Regions from separate parts of the Homo sapiens genome. Here region 2 is linked to region 1. Evidence: promoter capture Hi-C in 16 types of primary human blood cells and fetal thymus (Javierre and others, 2016). All regions are on one chromosome and are shown on one strand. The core of a region is centred on a gene start or on the middle of the fragment in contact, and the rest is flanking DNA. Distances in the headings are between cores, read along the strand shown. Region 1 holds the start of RXRG (retinoid X receptor gamma). Region 2 has its middle 49 kb from the start of MIR3658.

Region 1 (3,490 bases), core at 986-3,485:
AACTCAGCACACTACCTCTTCCTGCCTCCTCTTCCTCCTGGTGCTCTTTTCACTATATTAAAGCAACAATATTATAAATTTGAGTAAGGGCTTTTCTGGAAGTGTTCTGCAGCTCAGCCCCATATAAATTTGGACTAGTCCCTGCCTTCTTTTGAGCCTCAGTTTACACATCTATAAGATGAGAGCCTAAGATGCTGTTTCAGGTCCTTAGGATGCTAACATTCCAAGATTCCAGCCCCCATGGAATTTTAACTAGATCTTCTTTCTCTGGCTCTTACTTTAGTTCTCTCCCTAAATCCTTCTAGCTTCAACCCTTTTATTCACCCCAACTGTCTCCAAGGGTCTCTTTGGCATTAATGAAGCCACAGTCTCACAGACCTTGGGGGGCCCACGAATCTGGCTGAAAATGAGCATGCACCTCTTACAAATGAACTAAGATGTAAAGGAAAAAGCAATTCTCAGCTCTGAATGGGACTGAGGTGGGAATTGAGGAGGCTTTTCACATCTGGAGCCCAACCATAGACTAGAGATCAAATGCCCAGGTCACAGCATTGGCCACCGCTCTCACTCTGTCATCAGACTGGCCCAAAGAACTTGAACATCACCTCGGGAACATTTCCATGGCCCTCACCCCAAGTCCAAGTACAACCTACGTTTGCTATTACACACATCATGCAGTATTATAATGTGCCTGTGTAACAAGCCTGCCCCAGTCCCAAAGGGCAGAGACTGTGTCTCATTCATATTTGTATTCCCAGTGCCCAACACCATGCCTGCCTCATAAAAACTACCCTGAATGAATGTGCAAACTCCCAGGTCTAACACCTCCTGGTGACAGAGATCACTTCTACCTTGCAGTGTGTCACCATGCCTCCCAGGGGGTTCTGCCCAGCCAAGTTAGGCAAGCTTTAGTCCCAAGCCTTCAGATGAATTGGTCCACGGAGGAAGTCTGGAGAGCAGGGACTTTTCAATTTTCAAAACCTTATAAGAATTTCTGCTGTCTTGCCTGCCAGAATCTTTCTTTGGCTCCCAGCAACATAAGCTGCATGCCTCCAACTGACAAGCGACAGGCCAGTTGGTCAGCTGTTGCTTCCATTTACTCAGAGCTGGGCGGCTGTACTGTTTCTGTCACTAAATCAAGGGATCCTTGGGACGGATGTGCTTGGGCGTTAAGGCAGCCTGAGGACCTAGTCTCCGGAAGCTTCTGTGAAGTGTGACTGGGCTGCCCTGCCTGGCACGGTGACTTGAATCTTCAGTTTGCCAATTCTCTAAGAGCCCCAACCCCCCATCCCCAGATCTCTACCCCCAGAGTGGAAGTGATTGCAGCAACTCTTGCAGTAGAATTGGGGGCAGCAGCAGGGGAGGAGAGAAGAGGCTATTAGCAAATCAAAGGAAAGAAAACAGGGGAAGGAAAACACAGTAGCAAATTAAAGCACTATGTTTTCTTTTTAAAAATCCAATTAAAGGGAAATCTGCTTTTGAGTAAAACAATCATGCCCTTGTTACAAAGTATCCCAGGAACCCTCAAGATAGGCAAAACCTTTTTAATCACATTTTTTCTCATTACAAGTTGGCTAATAGGAACATCATAGTAATTCCCCGTTAACTCTTCCACTTTTCACACCCGCACAAACACACTGGGTTATAACAATGCTCTTATTCTATCTTTGTCTCAGACACATTCTCAAGCATGTTGGTTTACTCTCTCCTTAGAATATCCCCGTATCCTCATTCTGATATGCAAACGTATCCTCACCTACAGACCATTCTTTCCTCCTCTCCTCTCTCATGCACGCGTGCACACACACGCTGAAACGCTATATACACACTATATATGCATATAAACATATATGTTCTCCTTTTAATTCAATACTAATCCAGTCATTCGTATTTCCCAATTTCTTCTCAGTCTCTCATACAGGTCCACGCAGTGAAGCCCAAGGGAGATACTTACCTCCATAGCCTGCGGGAAACTTCATGAAGTGAGAATAATTTCCATACATGTTTACTCGTCAGTTCATGTTCCTCTCCTGTGCAGCTTCTAAATATTACCGCCTCTCTCGGCTCCCAGGCACAGCCCGGCTTTCTTCAACTTGGGCTAACAAGAGTGGTCATCGCTTCCTAGCAGCCCGGGGAGCACAGGCTGGGCCAGCCCTCTGGGATTAGTCAGGAATCTGCCTCTAGATCGGAGAGTCCACATAGTGCGTTTGAGACGGCTGTGGCGGCAGCAGCTGGTGCCTGTCAGTAATCACGCATAATGCTGCCGCCGCCGCCGCCGCCGCCGTCACCGCTACTCTTGCCACCGCCGTCGCTGCTGCTTGAGATCCTGTTGCTAGTTTGATTAACTCAGGGTTGGGCTGCTGCGTGCGACTCTTCCAGCTCCCGGCGCGTCCCCAGAGGTCCCTACCGGGTGGCACGATCTATTATCTAGGAAGCCAATCGATGTATGACCGCCCGGTGTAGGTCAGGAGAGAGGCGGGAGACGGCAGGGGATGGAAGACTCTTTAGGTGCCTGTTCCTTGACTTACATCCACAAAAATCAATGGGATTTTATTAAAATGCATTTTCTCATTCGAACTTCTATCTGTCCAATGTACTTGGTATTTGATCTGTGAAAGGAGGAGGGGGTGGGGTTCAAGAGAGAACAGGGCCCTTTCAGAAGCACAAGATTAGAAAAGCGTGATACTCAATCTCCAGCTACGGAAAACTAAAATAGAGTAGCCCTTAAGTTGAGGTGGGCCTCTCCTGCTTGGGTGGCCGGAAGCATTTATCTGTGCTCTAACAATGGGAGTTTGACAAGTGCAGCTGGAGCCAGAGCTCACTCAGGTGGAAAACTTACAGGTAGGGAGGAGGGGTTGGCTTGATGTGGAGGTCTTTCTCTGCATTTATTTTATATACCATTGTTATCCTGCCGCCTGTTCAAAAACACCACTGGGTCCTCACTAACACAGAGCCTGTCTTGTGTGGAACTGACCCGAGATCAAAGAATCTAAGCACCCCGTTGATGTTTGGGTCTGTCATACAGTTTTCGTGACAAGTCACCGCTCAGCCTATACTTGAACACCTCCAATAATGGGGAGCTCACCACTTTCTCATTCCATTTCTAGATAGTTTTCACCACAAGAAAGTTTCTTATAGAGATAAAATCTGCTCCTTTTCCCTACAGCTTCTGCCCACAGGTGCTAGACTGCTCCCAGGGGCCACACAAGAGAAGCCTGAAAGACAAAAAAGTCTTTCACAGTGGGATCCTCTGCAAATCCTGAGATTGATCTGCTGTGCCCATAATCCCCCTTTCCCTAGGCATCTCTGGCTCTTTCAGTAATTCTATGTATCACCAAGGGTTCATGTCTATTCCCAACCTATCCTTTTTCTAATAATGTACTTCAGTTTACATAGATACCCTCACAGTGAGGAAGGGGGTTGGCCAGACTTGGATGCAATACTCCAGATATGGTCCAAACCTTTTCCTCATGGTATATGTGTTGGCACG
Region 2 (3,477 bases), core at 899-3,398, 510 kb after region 1:
GTCAATGGTGATGATATAGGAAAGGGCAAGTGGGGAGAGGGTGACAGTGAGGGTGCAGCAGGTTGGGACCCAGCAAAATGATCTTTGGGGCCTAACATCCTTTGTCTCCAGGAGATCCCTAGTGTAGAAAGAGCAGCAGTAAACAGGGAATCAGGAGGTCTGGAGTTGGGAACCAGCATTTTTATTAATGCATCTGGGGCTGTGGCAAGTCACTTCACATATCTTGGGCTCAGCATCCTCATACATGTGATAAGGGGTGGACCTAGATGAGTTCCAAGATCTTTTCTGTAAAGATCCAAGTTCTCTTTCTGTATTTCTGGGTCTCTTTCTGTAAAAGTCCATGTTCTCTTTCTGTATTTGTGGGTCTCTTCCCACATTATCCCAACAATGGGACAGTGTCCCTGAGCCTGTGCTCCATTCCCTGGATTGGCCTCTGGTTACTGAATCTTCTATGATGTGTTAGATGATAGAAGTTGTCACATAAACTTATCATTGTCCTAGGGGACTTTCTTGGACAGATATAGTATTTTAAAACATACAAGATAGGTTTTCTAACACTGGAAATTCAAACAGTGGACAGAGCGTTGGGGGAGACTACGTGTGTGTGACAGATTGAGCCAGGGCTGGAGGGGCATGGTGAGAAGAGCAAAGCCCTGCCAGCCATCCCTTAGATCTTCCACGGCCACTATGTTCAGACATACATATGCCCTTGTGTGGTCTGATGCTTTGTTCTAACACAATGGCTGTCACTCATTGAATACCTGTTGTGTACCAGGCATTGCTCTGGCTAGTCTCTAATCCTCATAGGAACCCTGCAAGGAGGGAGTTACAGTATTTATCACTTACAGTTTCAGATATTCCCAAGTACCCCAGAGGTCCATGTGGTGCAGCAACCTGCAATGTTGGGTTTGCTCCATTTGCTAAGAGGCTGGGTGCAGAGGGAAGCTGCCTGCCTGGTGAGGGAGGCTTGCTCACTGCTAAATGCCTGCAGCTCGATCCCTCAGAAGTCATGACTCTTGAAATAATAGTTTAGTTCTTTGGTGGAAAATGGCCTCTGAAAAAAAGCCAGTTACTAGTGTTGAGGATGTAGGTGAAAAGAAAATAATGAGGGCCAAGAAGGTGGACCAGAAAATAGAAATTTGAGATAAAAACTGGGAGGTTGGATTTAGCAGTGGCTCAGGTTCATAATGCAACTGAGAGAGCTCACCACATTTTCTTTATAGAAATGAGACAAAGTGATTCAAAGGCACTGTAAGGAATGTTCCAGCCTGTGCAAATGATAACATTTGACTACCATGTGGAAGGCACTCAAAATGCAGGTTACATGGAGTGTGGGTCATGAAGGCCAATGAGCCCCAAAGCCCCATTCTCAAGGAGTTTACGTCTAGCAGAGACACAGACAAATAAATGGCCAAATATTCTAGAAAATTCTATAAGATAAATACCCATGACTGGGATGCTTAAAGGGCTATCATAATTCACAGGATTCATTTCTAACTTAGGTCATTCAGGAAGGCCTCTTGGAGGAGGGATTTATTAAGCTAGATTTTATAAGGTTAGTAGGATTTAGATGGGAGGAGGGCATTTTGGGCAAAGGGACTAGCATGAGACAAGGTCTGCTTGTTAGATGGTCTGGATATGGCTGGCACATGGTAGATAGACCAGTTTGGCTTCAGTGTAGAATTCATGGAAGTATTATTAAAGAAAGGCCTAGAGGAATAGGTGCTTTGCTTTATGGGAAGTCCTCGAGTGCCAGCCTAGGGAGTTTGGGTAAGCTATATTATGCTGTAAAAACAAATAAGTCTAAAACCTCAGAAGCTTAAATCAACAAAGCTCAATTTTTGCTCATGCTACAAGTCCATCACAGGTCAGCAGGAAGCCTGCTTCCTGTCCTTCTCACTCCAGGATCATGCTGATGGAGCTCCCACCTTCTGAAATGTACTTTGAGACAGTTGGAGGGAGAAGACATAGAAATTTGCACATCAGTACTTAAAGGCTTCCACTTAAAAGTAGCGTGTCAGCTGGGTGCAGTGGCTCATGTCTGTAATCCCAGCACTTTGGGAGGCCAAGGCAGGTGGACCTCTTGAGGTCAAGAGTTCCAGACCAGTCTGGCCAACATGGTGAAACCCCATCTCTACTAAAAATACAAAAATTAGCCAGGCATGGTGGCACGTGCCTATAATCTCAGCTACTCAGGAGGCTGAGGCGTGAGAATCACTTGAACCTGGGGGATGGAGGTTGCAGTGAGCAGAAATCATGCCACTGCACTCCAGCCTGGGACACAGAGTGAGACTCCGTCTCAGAAAAAAAAAAAAAAAGTCGTGTGTCATTTCCACTCACATTTTGTTGGTCAAGGTTAGTCATATGGTCGTGGGAAGAGGAGGGAAAGACATTCCCACCATGGGCCTGGAATGAAGAGGACTGGGATATCGGTGAAAATCATTGATTGCCACAAGTAGAGAGGGTGTGGGTGGGCTTCTAAGCTTTTGTATCTGACAGTGACATGACCCCTTGAGCTTCCTGCTTCATAGGTACGTTATTGTCCATACTGAATGCACTGAAATGGCCTGCTCCGTGTTGGTCTCCCGGGGATCAGTTCTTATTCTTATTTGTTCTTCAGGGGTCCACGGATTGGGTGCTTAAGCGGGATTTGTAATATAGATAAATGAATTTATTTTTTGAAGGATGGATTTGGAGAGAGGATAGATCGGAGCCTGAGGAAGTCAATTATTATATTTCTCCCAGTTAAGTTTGAAGAAAGAAAGATACTCTCCGCAGAGCTGTTTTGGCCTTTTTATTGGGAAACATTTTGTCACTCAAATGCTAATAATTAGAAATAAAGCAAAATACTTATTTTGCTAATAATTAGAAATAAAGCAATCAGTGCTAATAATTACAAATAAAGCAAAATACTTACTTCCTGGAAACCTGAAAACTGCTTGTGCCTCTTGCCATGCTCTTCCCTAAGGGGCCTATGCCCAATTTCCCCATAGAATGAAACATTTGGGAATTGTTCCAATCTAGTTTGGTGTGTCTGGAGTGCTGGCCTTTTTCCTGTCCCTGGTCTAATGGGTACATGAGTCTGGTAGCTTCTGGCTCCAGAAGGATTGATGTGGTCAGCCTTGGCAGTGACAACTCATAAGATCAAAGTGTCTTTTGAAAACAGCATTGCTACTGACAGCCCCAAGCTTGATTAAATTGTGACTGGATTAGAGGGCCCCAGTGCAATTAGCTGCTTCTCTAGCTTCCCCTCCTCCCACTGTGGGCAGAGGCTGCCATGCAGGGCAAGATGCAGGCAGGGGTATAAATCCCCTCTGTCTTGCATGGGGGGTAACTTGATTTCTATCTAGTCAAAGGCACGCTTGGGCCGCCTGTGTCGCAGTCTGTGTTACTCTCTGCTTTTTGGCAGCCCCAGCAGCATTCTAATGGTTTCACCTGCCATAGAGAAGCTTTGGTTAAGAGCGAGGGCAGGGGCAG

The links. Contacts are between HindIII fragments. The CHiCAGO score rates a contact against its expected background, and 5 or more counts as called.
Region 2: a fragment that was not itself captured here is called in contact with the fragment with the promoter of RXRG in region 1 in 1 of 17 cell types (naive B cells); the score reaches 5.8 in naive B cells.

The regions. Positions count from the first base shown.
Region 1 is chr1:165,442,891-165,446,380 of GRCh38, forward strand. It overlaps RXRG (retinoid X receptor gamma), which reads right to left and starts at 2,236. Exons shown (of 10, transcript NM_006917.5): 1 at 1,955-2,236. The coding sequence starts at 2,003. The HindIII fragment of the contact is 7,493 bases long and covers 1,200-3,490 here.
Region 2 is chr1:165,955,352-165,958,828 of GRCh38, forward strand. No RefSeq gene overlaps it. Among named protein-coding and RNA genes, the nearest start is that of MIR3658, 49 kb to the left of the region's middle. The HindIII fragment of the contact is 665 bases long and covers 1,817-2,481 here.